Regions from separate parts of the Homo sapiens genome. Here all the other regions are linked to region 2. The links are contacts of gene promoters, found by promoter capture Hi-C in human tissues and cell types (Jung and others, 2019). All regions are on one chromosome and are shown on one strand. The core of a region is centred on a gene start or on the middle of the fragment in contact, and the rest is flanking DNA. Distances in the headings are between cores, read along the strand shown. Region 1 overlaps TUBA8 (tubulin alpha 8). Region 2 holds the start of ATP6V1E1 (ATPase H+ transporting V1 subunit E1). Region 3 has its middle 16 kb from the start of CECR2. Region 4 holds the start of LOC105372853 (a long non-coding RNA gene). Region 5 overlaps MICAL3 (microtubule associated monooxygenase, calponin and LIM domain containing 3).

Evidence for each region. The method cuts DNA at HindIII sites, captures the fragments that hold promoters and counts their contacts. A contact is called where the count stands out against the background at its distance.
Region 1: a fragment that was not itself captured here is called in contact with the fragment with the promoter of ATP6V1E1 in region 2 in 1 of the 25 tissues and cell types used here (lymphoblastoid cells).
Region 3: a contact is called between a fragment that was not itself captured here and the fragment with the promoter of ATP6V1E1 in region 2, in 1 of the 25 tissues and cell types used here (lymphoblastoid cells).
Region 4: a fragment that was not itself captured here is called in contact with the fragment with the promoter of ATP6V1E1 in region 2 in 1 of the 25 tissues and cell types used here (lymphoblastoid cells).
Region 5: a contact is called between a fragment that was not itself captured here and the fragment with the promoter of ATP6V1E1 in region 2, in 1 of the 25 tissues and cell types used here (lymphoblastoid cells).

What each region holds. Positions count from the first base shown.
Region 1 is chr22:18,129,101-18,131,800 of GRCh38, reverse strand. TUBA8 (tubulin alpha 8) reads right to left here. Exons shown (of 5, transcript NM_018943.3): 5 at 69-958. The coding sequence ends at 665. Among named protein-coding and RNA genes, the nearest start is that of TUBA8, 20 kb to the right of the region's middle. The HindIII fragment of the contact is 4,128 bases long and covers 1-2,700 here.
Region 2 is chr22:17,627,333-17,630,032 of GRCh38, reverse strand. ATP6V1E1 (ATPase H+ transporting V1 subunit E1) reads left to right here and starts at 1,284. Exons shown (of 9, transcript NM_001696.4): 1 at 1,284-1,430. The coding sequence starts at 1,398. It also overlaps a transcript of BCL2L13 not described here. RefSeq lists enhancers at 1,159-1,328, 1,270-1,359, 1,440-1,589. The HindIII fragment of the contact is 10,651 bases long and covers 1-2,700 here.
Region 3 is chr22:17,351,888-17,354,742 of GRCh38, reverse strand. It overlaps the pseudogene RN7SL843P. Among named protein-coding and RNA genes, the nearest start is that of CECR2, 16 kb to the left of the region's middle. The HindIII fragment of the contact is 4,750 bases long and covers 1-2,855 here.
Region 4 is chr22:18,053,824-18,056,533 of GRCh38, reverse strand. It overlaps LOC105372853 (a long non-coding RNA gene), which reads right to left and starts at 575. Exons shown (of 6, transcript XR_001755424.2): 1 at 417-575. The HindIII fragment of the contact is 9,258 bases long and covers 1-2,710 here.
Region 5 is chr22:17,928,082-17,930,781 of GRCh38, reverse strand. The region is part of intron 1 of MICAL3 (microtubule associated monooxygenase, calponin and LIM domain containing 3); the gene reads left to right. Among named protein-coding and RNA genes, the nearest start is that of MIR648, 52 kb to the left of the region's middle. The HindIII fragment of the contact is 3,175 bases long and covers 1-2,700 here.

The DNA.
Region 1 (2,700 bases), core at 82-2,581, 500 kb before region 2:
CAGTCCACAGGAGCACGCCCAGACACTCTCTCACCACTGCTTTTTACTTTCTCTCACTTGACACCAGCTGACATGATCTCATTCACTTTATTTATGTGTGTATGAGGGCAGGAAATGTGTTCGTCTCGCTTATCACCAACTCTCCAGCTCTCAGTGCCTAGGACAGGGTGTGTATTGGAATATGTGATGGGGGAGTGAATGCATGCTAAGTCTAGATGATGCCCGGAGCGGGCTATAGACCCACTCATGTGAACGTCCGCTCACCCCTGCCCCGGAATCTTCCCAGGCCCAGATCTCCCCTTTCTCTGAGTGTTCCCACTCCCCAGCCAGCAGGCCATGTTTTGGGGCTGGACCCAGCCCGATCTGGAATTGAAACTCCTGATTAGGCCTCCTCGCATGTGAAACTGGGCTGCAGCCTCACCCGCCGGAGACAGTGGCCCTCACTTTCTTTAGTGACACAAAGCTGCTCCTACCCAGGGAGGGCCTGATGAAGCTCAGTGTCCACTTAGCCCAGTCGTGCCACCCTGGGTACTGGGGCCAGGCACCCTCCTCCTGGGTAAGGCAGGAATCAGGCTGGGGCGGGGAGAGTGTTCTGTTCTCTTGAACATGTGCTTTGAATGGCACAGCATAAATAAAGAGACACAGCCAAGGGGAAGGTATATATTTAAAATTCCTCCCCTTCATTTTCTTCTTCAAACGAATCAGTCCCCACTTCTTCATAATCCTTCTCCAGGGCAGCTAAGTCTTCCCTGGCCTCAGAAAATTCTCCTTCTTCCATCCCCTCTCCCACATACCAATGCACAAAGGCCCGCTTGGCGTACATGAGGTCGAACTTGTGGTCGAGGCGGGCCCAGGCCTCCGCAATGGCCGTGGTGTTGCTGAGCATGCAGACGGCCCGCTGCACCTTGGCCAGGTCTCCCCCGGGGACCACGGTCGGGGGCTGGTAGTTGATGCCCACCTGAGGGACACAGAAAGAGGAGGAGCCACAGAAGAAGATACAAGTCAGCCAGAGGATAACTCAGGATGGGACATCTTGGTCACTTGGCATGGCTTCAAGTCATGGTCAGGGGCGTGGGAGTGGGGCTATGGGATGCAACAGGCGGGATGGGACTGGGGAAGCCAGCAGGTGGCAAGGGAGAAGCTGAAGAGAAAGTGGAAGCAGGCAGGGCAACAGAGCAAAAACCCATCTCTACCAAAAAAAAAAAAAAAATTAGCCAGGCCCGGTGGCTATGCCTACTAGTCCCAGCTACTCAGGGAGGCTGAGGTGGAAGGATCACTTGAGCCCATGAGGTCAAGGCTGCAGTGAGCTACAGTGGTTCCACTGCACTCCAGTGGCAGGGACACAGCAAGACCCTGTCTCTTAAAAGCAAAACAAAAAAAAAAGTAGATGGGGAAGGGCTGGGCAATCAAAGGCTAGAGAAGGAGGACAGGGCTGGTATAGGGGGCTCAGCAAGTAGGCAAATGAGAGTCACGAGCGACATTAGGAGCGGGTGGGAGGTGTCTGGTACATGTGTATGTGTAACAGGGAAACGCATTCTAGATTCAAAGCTGTTCAAAAGTGTACTCTCTCCCAAGTGGTCATCTGAAGTTCCTCTTAGTTGTGTTGCGAGTAAATTTAAGGAAGTTTCCCTGCCAAGAGTGAAAACTGTTGGAAGAGGTCACAGGGATATTCCAGAGCAATAAATAAAGAGAGCCGAAAGGCCCCGGGATGGTGTTGGCGTTAACCAGGCTCTAGGTTTTTGGGAATTGGGGCTTCTTAGAAGAAAAGCAGGGTCTCCAATCCAAGAAGGTTGTTGAAGGTCTTGCCAAGTTCTGGCAGCATGGCAGGTCTCCCAGGCTCAGCCCAGACCCGTCTTACAGTGGTGCTGCTATCCTGGAAATCTCTCTTCTTCCCAACACACGTCCCAAACCAAAGCCAACCCCAGGAACCATGGGAAACTGGGACAAGTCTAATGTGGCAAACCGTGACATTACTTATGAGAACTATAGTGATGTCCTCAGCCACCTCTCCCACTGAGACCACCACATTTTAATCGCCAGTCTCTTAAATCCATAGCTTTAAAATGCACATCCTCCTGAGGGGCTGGTGTGGGAATGGCAGCCAGCTGTGTGGCAACATGGGTAGCCAGGCAGCCACTGGACCCACAGCAGCCGTCATTCCTCTTAGGCACAGGTGGCATCTTGGAGGTGGAGGTGATACTGGGAGAGGGGCAAAGTGGGGAAGGGAAAGGCAATGTATATGAATTTGGCCACATCACATACATTGCTAGAACTGAGCCGACTGCCATAAACCTTGTGCCTGGGCCAACCTGTTCTCCTCTAAGTGCTAACATCTCTTGACCTGAGTCAAGTGGGGACAAGTACTGTTGGAGAGAATGCAAGAAGATGAAGTTTAGCAGCATCCTCTCCAGGGAACATACTTTTCTTAGCTTATGCTAATGCTACCATAATGATCCTTCAGGACATAACTCCAGAGCTTCTGCTTTAAGGAGAGAGAATGAGGGGACATTTCCGCTTTGTTAATTTCCCCATCACCCACCATGTCTCTCATTCATTCTCTTTTTTCCCCATTCATTCTCCTACTAGCTGGTTGTTTGTTTCCATTTGAAAAAGAAAAAAGAATTTCATTTTTTGGAAGACCTTGACTGGTTTTGCCAGGATGATTAGAACTGTCACATAAAAAATAGGCATAGTCTTGGG
Region 2 (2,700 bases), core at 35-2,534:
TGGTCAGGCTGGTCTCGAAATCCCGACCTCAGGTGATCTGCCCACCTCAGCCTCCCAAAGTGGTGGGATTACAGGCGTGAGACACCGCGCCTGGCCCGGGACAAAGGAAATTAATGTTCAGCCTAGTAAACTAAATTTCCTGAATTTGCTACATCCTCGTTCTTATGACACACTAAAATAGGAAGTGTGTGTGTGTGTGTGTGTGTGTGTGTGTATGAAAATAAAGTGTTAATGTACATGTAGCAAAATGTTAACAATTGTTGAATCTAGGTGAAGGGAGGTCAATGCAGTATTCTTACAAGTTACTATATCTCAAATTTCTTCAAGATAAAAAGCTAATAAAAATGGTGGGTAACCATAGCACAGTAAAAAGAAAAAAGTGGGTGTACCATTTGACCTCTTATTCTACTATTAGGAGTCAGTCTATCCTAAAGATAAAGGAATTTTCAAAAGTTTTTGCCTTTGGGATTTTGGGGAAAAAAACGGGCTTGAGGTAAATCCAAATAAAAACAAATGAGCCTGGGGGGATTTCTGTCCTAATATTCCTCTAAATGGGACCTGGGAAGGCTTTTGAAAAATATATAGGCTATCTCAGAAAAGTTCCAAATAAATTATGTAGCTGCTCCACCCTAATAAGGAAGTTGAGCATAGCTTCCCACTCCCTAGGTGTGGGCTTTGTATAGTGGCTTCCTTCCTAAGACTACAGTATGGAAAGGGGGTTAAAAAAGGTAACTTCAGAGTGGAGAAACCTACAAACCCTACACTTTATTCAGGTAATCAAGGTTGACATGAATAGTCAGAAATCATGTATCCCCCTTTTTTTTTTCTTTTGGTAGAGACGGGGTTCCTCTATGTTGTCCAGCCTGGTCTCGAACTTGAGGTCAAGCGATACACCCGCCTTGGTCTCCCAAAGTCTCCGGATTGCAGGCGTGAGCCACCACGCCCGGCCAACAATCATGTACCCCTAAGCCCATAACCCTGTGTAATTATGCGAAAAATTCCAATAAAGGCACATTCTCCAATATACCTAACCAGTACTCCTCAAAACAGCCCGACTAATTTCAGATAGAGGAACTCCTTATCTTTTCTTCCTCCTACCCAAGATCCCAGTTTAGGAAAAAAATACCGGTCAGGTCACGAGTCAGCGACGTAGAAGGACCCGAGGACGCGCCCACAGGCCGGGACAGGGCGGGACTTCCTGGGCGTCGCTCTCTTCCCATTGGCTGAGAAGGGTCATGAGGATGAACTGTGCAGTCACCTGGCAGGAACCGGAACCCGCGGTTATAAAGTAAAGGAACCCGAGATCTGCGCAGGGGTTCCCTTTGCCGATTTCTCTCACCTCACCTTTCAAACCTAAACTCGAGCCTACTGTTCACCGGCCTAGCATTGCTCTCGCCATGGCTCTCAGCGATGCTGACGTGCAAAAGCAGGTGAGGGGCTTGGTTGGGTCTTACGAAGCCGCGGCGGCAGTCCCGGGGAGTGGGCTGGAGCCCGCCTAGGGAAGGCCGCGGGCCTTGAGCCGCCCAGATGCCGCAGGAAGGTCCCTTGCTCCAAGTCACCAGATCCAAGAGGTCGGCCTGAGGACGGAGATTTGCCCCGCAGCTCATGTGACTTTTGCTCGGGTCTTGGGCACTGCCCGCTTGCCTGCGCGCTGCCTTCTTGAACGCCCTGGCTCTTTGCCTCCCACCTCAGCATTCCCTGTTTTCCAAGGGTATTCACTGTGCCTAGTCGGACAGAGATCTGTGCAAGGATTGAAAACAGCCTTGTGGCCAGGGGCAGTGGCTCACGCCTGTAATCCCAGTATTTTGGGAGGCCGAGGCGGCCGGATCACCTGAGGTCAGGAGTCCGAGACTAGCCTGGCCAAAATGGTGAAACCCCGGTCTCTACTAAAAATAGAAAATTAGCCGGACGTGGTGGCGCGCGCCTGTAATCCCAGCTACTCGGGAAGCTGAACCCGGAGGCGGAGGTTGCAGTTAGCCGAGATCGCGCCTTTGCACTCCAGCATGGGCGACAGGGCGAGACTCCCTCTGGAAAAAGAAAAAAAAAAAACAAACCAGCCTTGTCACTTTTTTTTTTTTTAACCCTGAGGGAAATGCTTAAGGCTATATGATAGGAAACAGTGCGGAGGGAAGAGACCTGCTTCCAACCAGTGTTTTGACAAGGTCGTTCACTTTATGAACTGTGTTTTTTTCTTTTTTTCTTTTTTTTTTTTTTGAGACGGAGTCTCACTCTGTCGCCCAGGCTGGAGTGCAAGGGCGCGATCTCGGCTCACTGCAACCTCCGCCCCGGGTTCAAGTGATTCTCCTGCCTCAGCCTCCCTAGAAGCTGGGATTACAGACTCGCGCCCCAAGCCCGGCTAATTTTTGTATTTTTTTTAGTAGAGGCAGGGTCTCACCATATTGGCCTGGCTGGTCTTGAACTCCTGACCTCAGGTGATCTTCCCACCTGGGCCTCCCAAAGTGCTGGGATTACAGGCATGAGCCAACGCGCCAGGCCTGTATGTACTGTTAATCTTCATTTTGGGGAAGTCCCCTCTATCATAATGGATTGTAATGATTGGTCTCCCACTAATGTGTGTGTTAACATTTGTGAGATACAGGCTGGGGCCGGGCATGGTGGCTCACGTCTGTAATACCAGCACTTTGGGAGGCTGAGGAGGGCGGATCACCTGAGGTCAGGAGTTCGAGACGAGCCTGGCCA
Region 3 (2,855 bases), core at 141-2,640, 280 kb after region 2:
CTACCTGCACCAATTACAGTAAAAACTATTTGTCTTATTTATTACAATACACAAAGTCCTAGTCTGTATAAGCTATACTCATTATTTTACCCCAAAAAGAAAAAATTTGGTCAGGCCCGGTGGCTCACGCCTGTAATCTCAGCACTTTGGGAGGCTGAGGTGGGCAGATCACTTGAGGCCAGGAGTTTGAGACCAGCCTGGCCAACATGGTGAAATCCTGTCTCTACTAAAAATACAAAAAGTAGCCGGCATGGTGGCGTGCACCTGTAATCCCAGCTACTCAGGAGGTTGAAGCAGGAGAATCATTGAACCCAGGAGGCAGAGGTTGCAGTGAGATCACACAACTGCACTCCAATGGGGGTGAGAGAGTGAGACTCTGTCTCACAAAAAATAAAAATAAAAAAAAAGAAGGAAAGAAAAAAATTTTCCTTTTTATGAATACAACTGTGGGATTGACATTGTTTTCCAATTTGATTTCCCCAATCATATTTTTCCCCATATTTTGGGGAATAATAATATGAATAATAATTTTCATATTATTCCCCCATAAATATTTACTAAACAGTTACTATGTTTTAAGCATTGTTGTAAGAGTTGAAGACCTAGAAATTCCTATGAACTTCAAATCTATTATGTGTATACTTTCATTATTTTTAAAGTTAATCAGGTTTCCCTATCACCTTCTATCTTCATTAACGACAACTGAAGCAGAGTCTGTGAGATTCTTGTCTTTGCGTGGCTGAAAAACTAAAAGGTTTTTGGACATTTAGTAGGAAGAGACCTGTTGGTGAAAAAGGAAAAGGATGGGGGGCACCCTGTGACAACTGTGGTTATTCTTGCATAGAGATGGATATGATTATGCTGTTAGGTTTAATCATGCTAAAAAACATGGCATTCCTGGTAAATCGCAGTCAGTCCAGAAGACAGCTTCTGACGTGCCCTCCTAAACCACAGAAACATTAGCTAATGTGTGATGACCTCTAAAAACATTCTGGCTGCGCTGGGCGCGGTGGCTCACGCCTGTAATCCCAGCACTTTGGGAGGCCGAGGTGGGCAGATCACGAGGTCAGGAGATCGGGACCATCCTGGCTAACACGGTGAAACCCCATCTCTACTAAAAATACAAAAATTTAGCCGGGTGTGGTGGCAGACGCCTGTAATCCCAGCTACTCGGGAGGCTGAGGCAGGAGAATGGCATGAACCCGGGAGGCAGAGCTGGCAGTGAGCCGAGATCGCGCCACTGCACTCTAGCCTGGGTGACAGAGCGAGACTCCATCTCAAAAAAAAAAAAAAATTCTGGCTGCACACACCAACATGGAACACGTATACATATGTAACAAACCTGCACGTTGTGCGCTTGTACCCTGGAACTTAAAAGTATAATTAAAAAAATCAAAAAACAAAACAAAACGACAACAACAACAAAAATATTCTGGCTGCAGTGGCTCATGTCTATAATCTCAGCACTTTGGGAGGCCGAGGCAGGAGGATTGATTGAGCCCAGGGTTTCAAGAACAGCCTGAGCAAAATAGTGAGACCCTGTCTCTACGGAAAAAAAAAACATAGCCAGGTGTGATAGTACATGCCTGCGGCCTCAGCTACATGGGGGGCTGAGGCGGGAGGATCAGTTTAGCTTGGGAGTTCTGGGCTATAGTTCACTATGCCAACTGGGTATTCACACTAGGTTCAACATCAGTATGGTGACCTCCTGGGAGCAGAGAACCAGGAGGTTGCCCAACGAGGGGTGAATGGGTTCAGGTCAGAAACAGAAGAGTCAAAGGTCCTATGCTGATCAGCAATGGCATTCTGCCTGTGAATAGCCACTGCACTCTGCCTGGGCAACATAGCAAGACCTCATCTCTAAAAAGTAGTAAATAAATAAATAAAAATAAAAACACTCTGATCTAATGGCCCATCCCTGCCAGACTAAATAACAGGAGTTAGCAAGCTTCTTAATTAATGGTAGAAAAGACAAATCTCCAGAAACAATCTATTGCAAAGGTTGGGAACTGTGGAAATGTCTCTAATAGTTACAGGCCCCAAATTAGTCCCCTGGCCTTGTGAGCGCATCTCATGTGCCCATTTGAAACTCAACTGCAATCAAATTTCCTGGCTAAAGGCTGGATGGTGAAGTGTAAAAAATAGTGTCTTCACCTTAAAATTCATAACAAATGGCACAGAGTAGCATTTCTTTTTTTTTTTTTTTTGAGACGGAGTCTCACTTTGTCACCCAGACTGGAGTGCAGTGGCGTGATCTCGCCTCACTGCAACCTCTGCCCCTGGGTTCAAGCGACTCTCATTCTCAGCCTCCTGAGTAGCTGGGATTACAGGCGCACACCACCATGCCTGGCTAATTTTTGTATTTTCAGTAGAGACAGGGTTTCACCATGTTAGTCAGACTGGTCTCAAACTCCTGACCTCGTGATCCACCCGCCTCGGCCTCCCAAAGTGTTGGGATTACAGGTGTAAGCCACCAAGTCCGGCCCAGAGTAGCATTTCTTGTTGGCGGTTGGGACTGAGGCCAAAATGGAGATGACAGAACCATCAAAGTGGGGGGAGTTCTGGGGGGATGGTCAGTGATTGGTCAACAGTGGTTGAAGAATGAAAGATTGTATATAGGCCAGGCAGTGGCTCACGCCTATGATCCCAGCACTTTGGGAGGTCGAGGTGGGTGGATCATTTGAGGTCAGGAGTTCAAGACCAGCCTGGCCAACGTGGTGAAACCACGTCTCTACTAGAAATACAAAAAATTAGCTGGGCACGGTGGCATGCGCTGTAATCCCAGCTACTCGGGAGGCTGAGGCATGAGAATCATGTGAGCCCTGGAGGTGGAGGTTGCAGTGACCTGAGATCAC
Region 4 (2,710 bases), core at 1-2,500, 430 kb before region 2:
AAAAATATTTGTCTCAGCAGATGAGATCACCACACATGGCTCATGATAGAGATCTTTTGTTGCTCCCTTAATTGAAGCTTGGAAGAGAGCAGAAATGACAGCAGAAATCAGACTACTGCCCACAAGGTTCCAATGGGCTGGTCCATGTTTAACTAAGTGCAGCTGAAGTCATGAAGACTTGATACCATCCATCTGAACTGTGGCCTGTGTCTCACTGACATATGGGCCCCGCCCTTCCCATCCACCCCCTTCCTCAGCACCAGACTGGCTATGGCTCACCCACACTGAGCAAATCAGGGGCAAAGCCAGGAAGGGACACACAGCCACGGGCTGAACGCAAGCCTAGGGGCAGGGAAAGGCCGAACAAAGCCCCAGCCTCCACTTTTCAAGGACTTCCTTTTCTGAAGGCTACTCACCGTGTGGGACAGGAGCTGGAGCAGAGCTGGAGACCTCCACCCATAGCCAGTGCCTGCTGCATGCCACATGAGCTCTAGGCATTGGGAATACGGCAGTAAACAAGACAAGTCCCCAGCTCTGGGAGCTAGAGATGAAAGGCTTCGGGGGTGGTTGGAGATAGACAACAGAAATGACGACTAGCCAAGATAATTTATGTACTGATAAGTGTACACTGAACACAAAATGCAGATAGAGGCCGGGCATAGTGGCTCATGCCTGTAATCCCAGACCTTTGAGAGGCCGAGGAGGGAGGATCCATTGAGGCCTGGAGTTTGAGGCTATCATGGAAGGAGGCGGAGCTTGCAGTGAGCTATGATCACACCACTGCACTCTAGCCTGGGTGATAGAGTGAGACCCTGTCTCAAAAACAAAACAAAATGAAACTGCAGCTAGAGAGTGATGTGGGGCTCCTTTAGCCCACAAGGTTAGGGCAGGCCTGTCTGAGCAGGTGTCAAAGTTGCAGCCTGAAAGGTGAGGGGGCTGCTAGGTAGCATGGACCATTGAGTGGAAGGGCTCAGAGTCAGAAAAGAGCTTGGTGTGTTCAGGGGACAAAAAGAAGGCCCATAGGACAGTGCCACGGCGACCAACGGAGAGGAGGGAAAAGAGCGGCAAACGCCGGCAGGGTCAGCTCTGTCACTGCAGGCCACCAGAAAGGGTTTGGATTCTGTTGGGTTTTTTAAGGGGAAGAGTCCTGTGATGTGGCATCTACTTTAGAAAGGCCATTCTTGGGCTGCTTTGTACAGGATGGGCTAGAGGGGGCCAAGAACGGCGATAGGAAGAATAGGTAGGGGTTTTGGTACATGGAAGAGAGGAGGGTGGCCTAGATCTGGGGGGAGGAAGTGGAGGTAGTTAGCAGTGGGAAATGCATTTTGAATGTAAAAAAAATGGAGCAGACTGGCCGGGCGCGGTGGCTCACGCCTGTAATCCCAACACTTTGGGAGGCCGAGGTGGGCAGATCACAAGGGCAGGAGATTGAGACCATCCTGGCTAATATGGTGAAACCCTGTCTCTACTAAAAATACAAAAAATTAGCTGGGCATGGTGGCGGGCGCCTGTAGTCCCAGCTACTCGGGAGGCTGAGGTGGGAGAATGGCGTGAACCCGGAAGGCGGAGCTTGCAGCGAGCCGTGATTGTGCCACTGCACTCCAGCCTGGGTGACAGAGCAAGACTCTGTCTTGAAAAAAAAAAAAAAAGAAGAGGACTTACTAATGGATTCATTGTGAGATGTTAGAGAAAAGCAAAGCAAAGAGTTCAGGGTGAGGTTTTCGTCCTGAGCAACAGGGTAGAGTGGTTTCACTTAGTATGACGGAGGAGACTAGGGAATAAATGGGTTTGGAGTGGTAGGGAAGCAAGTCTTCTGTTTTATTTATTTATGTATTTATTTATTTATTTTGAGACCGAGTCTCACTCTGTCACCCAGGGTGCAGTACAGTGGCATGATCTCGGCTCACTGCAACTTCCACCTCCTGGGTTCAAGCGACTCTCCTGCCCCAGCCTCCCGAGTAGCTGGAACTACAGGCAAGTCTTCTGTTTTAGACATGTCAAGTTTGAGACCTGTTGGGCACCAAGAGAGCACGTAGCCTAGGAGTGCATATGAGTCTGAAGCTCAGCTGGAAGATCAGCAGAAGGTCAAAGGTGAGAGTCATTAGCATGTGTGTGGTTCTTAAAGCCCTGGGGTGGAGGAGCCTAGGACCACAATGTGGAGACAGAAGTGGTGGAAAGACCCAGGACAATTAGAGAACAGGAGGAGGAGGCAGTACAGGAGGCGGAGGCTGTAGCCATTGAGAGAGGAGCTTATGGGTCGGCTGTGGGCCTGGAAGGCCTGGAGAAGAAGCGCTTTGAGAGAGGGTGCTGCTCTGTGTCAAGACATGCAAGAGGCCAGGGGAGGCGACATGGGGTGATTCCCTACTGCCCTGGGGAAGATGGAGGTCAGGGGCAGCCTCCTGAGGAGCCACAAGAGGGGATGGTGGAGACATGAGCCAGGCAGAGTGAGATGAGGAGGGAGTGTGGGGAGGCAGTGCACACAAACTGTGGGATGCTCTGCAGCACCAGGGAGAAGGAAAAGCGGTGAGAGCAGAAGAGGAACGTGCCTCAAGCTCTTTGAACGGGTTGTTGGGCTGCCCCTACCCCACCCAAGTCTACCTTATCAGCCACATTGAGAGGTGACAGCGTGCTGGCAGTCTTCACAGCCCTCGCTCGCTCTCCGTGCCTCCTCTGCCTGGGCTCCCATTTTGGCAGCACTTGAGGAGCCCTT
Region 5 (2,700 bases), core at 106-2,605, 300 kb before region 2:
TTCCAAGCTTTACGGAACTTCCTGGCGTGGCCAATTCTAACTCAGACTCTAACTGGGGGCCCTGGGAGACAGTTCCCAGCTTAACCAAGTTGACACAGCACCACTGTCCAGATCAGGGTCCCAAGTCCCAGCCCTGCCCAGGTAGCCACTGTCTGAGCCGACTTCTGCACCATAGACATAAACTTTGTTCTTGTCTTTGTGTACATGGAGTCGTGCAGTATTTTCTGTCCTGTGTCTGCCCTCTCTTGCCCAGCACTAATCTGTGAGTTTCATCGGTGTGGCTGGATGTTGCAGTAGTTCATTCCTCTTTCCTGCTGTGTGGTATTCCATTGTGTGACTGTAACTGCAGCTTATCATTTTGCTGCTGTTGGTCATTTGAATGTTTCCAATTTTTGAGTATTATGAATAAAGCTGCAATGAGCATTCTTTTACTTGTCTTTTGGCTAACATAAGACATTCATCTCTGTTGGATGTATCCCCAAGAATGGAATTGCTGAGTTTTAGGGTAGATGTGTATGTAGCTTCAAGAACCACTGCTGAACAATTTTCCATAGTGGTTGTACGAGTTCACCACGCGCATTGTCTGAGAGTTCCAGTTGTTCCCTATCGTTGCCTACTCGTGGCATTGTCAGTCTTTAATTTTAGTTATTCTGATGGGTGATAGGATCTCATTATGGTTTTGATGGACTTCCTGTGACTAATATGTTAAACACCTGTTCACATGCCTTGGTGATTTGAGTGTCCTCTTTTGTGATATGCCTGATCAAATCTTCTGCCCGTTTTTCCTTTGGTGTCTGTTTTTTTCCGTATTGGTTTATACAGAATTTTTCTACATTCCAGATATGAGAGTTTTCTTGGTTACACATAGCCCTTTTGCTTTAAAGAGGTTTATTCCTTCTGAAATGGAGCATAGAGGCCGGGCGCAGTGGCTCACGCCTGTAATCCCAGCACTTTGGGAGGCCAAGGCGGGTGGATCACCTGAGGTCAGGAGTTCGAGACCAGCCTGGGCATCAGGTGAAACCCTGTCTCTACTAAAAATACAAAAAATTAGCCAGGCGTGGTGGCGGGCATCTGTAGTCCCAGCTACTCAAGAGGCTGAGGCAGGAGAATGGCATGAACCCGGGAGGCGGAGGTAGCAGTGAGCCGAGATAGCGCCACTGCACTCCAACCTGGGCAACAGAGCAAGACCCTGTCAAAAAAAAAAAAAAAAAAAGAAAAGAAAAGGAAAGAAAGAAAAATGAAATAGAGCACAGATGGGTTTCAGGCCTGTTTACAGAGGGGAGCCTTTGGAAAAAATGTTGTTACTTATCGGTCTTTTTTCAGGAATTGGAAGTTAAATAACCCAACTTACACATGGTTTTAAAAACAAAATATTGGAGGCTGGGCATGGTGGCTCATGCCTCTTAATCCTAGCACTTGGAGAGACCAGGACAGGAGGATTGCTTGAAGCCAGGAGTTTGAGATTAGCCTGTGCAACAGAACTAGACTTTGCCTCTAAAAAAAAAAAAAAAAAAAATTAGCCAGGCGTGGTGGTGCACATCTGTAGTTCCATCTACTTGGGAGGCTGAGGTAGGGGGAATTGTTTGACCCAGGAGTTTGAGGTTACGGTGAGCTATGATGGCATCACTACACTCCAGCCTGGCAGACAGAGGGAGACTCTTTCTTTAAAAAAGGAAAAAAAAAAAAAAGGGCCGGGCACCGTGGCTCATGCTTGTAATCCCAGCACTTTGGGAGGCCGAGGCGGGCAGATCACAAGGTCAGGAGTTCGAGACCATCCTGGCTAACACAGTGAAACCCCATCTCTACTAAAAATACAAAAATTAGCCAGGCGTGGTGGCGGGCGCCTGTAGTCCCAGCTACTTGGGAGGCTGAGGCAGGAGAAAGGCGTGAACCCGGGAGGTGGAGCTTGCAGTGAGCGGAGATCACGACACTGCACTCCAGCCTGGGTGACAGAGTGAGACTCCGTCTTAAGAAAAAAAAGTTCTAAGGGTGCCAGTCATTTGTCACATCAGGGTTGTGTCATTACAGTGATTATGGTCACCCCCCTATGGGGCATGTAACACAATATATAAAGCCACGGTATGAAACATCTAAGTGTTCTGGTTGTTCATCGTATCAGGGCAGTGTTATTTCAAGGAGTGAATGTGTCCACCAAAGCGTGGTGCATGTACTGCATTACGTAAAGTTGGCTTTATGTTTCTTAAGTGCTCCTTGCACATGTGAATCACAGTAGTCTTATCTCAGTGAGTGAATGTGTTCACCACACTAGATATATCTCATACACTACATGAAGACGCATGCAGACAGGTGTTTCTTTCTTTCTTTCTTTCTTTCTTTTTTTTTGAGACGGAGTCTTGCTGTTTCGCCCAGGCTGGTGTGCAGTGGTGCAATCTTGGCTCACTGCAAGCTCCGCCTCCCGGGTTCACGCCATTCTCCTGCCTCAGCCTCCTGAGTAGCTGGGACTACAGATGCCCGCCACCACGCCCCGCTAATTTTTTGTATTTTTAGTAGAGGCGGGGTTTCACCGTGTTAGCCAGGATGGTCTCGATCTCCTGACCTCGTGATGCGCCCGCCTCGGCCTCCCAAAGTGCTGGGATTACAGGCATGAGCCACCGCGCCCGGCCCACGGACAGGTGTTTCTAACAGTACTATTCCTCGCATCAGGTAGCGTTCCTGCAGTGGGTGAATGTGTCCACCACG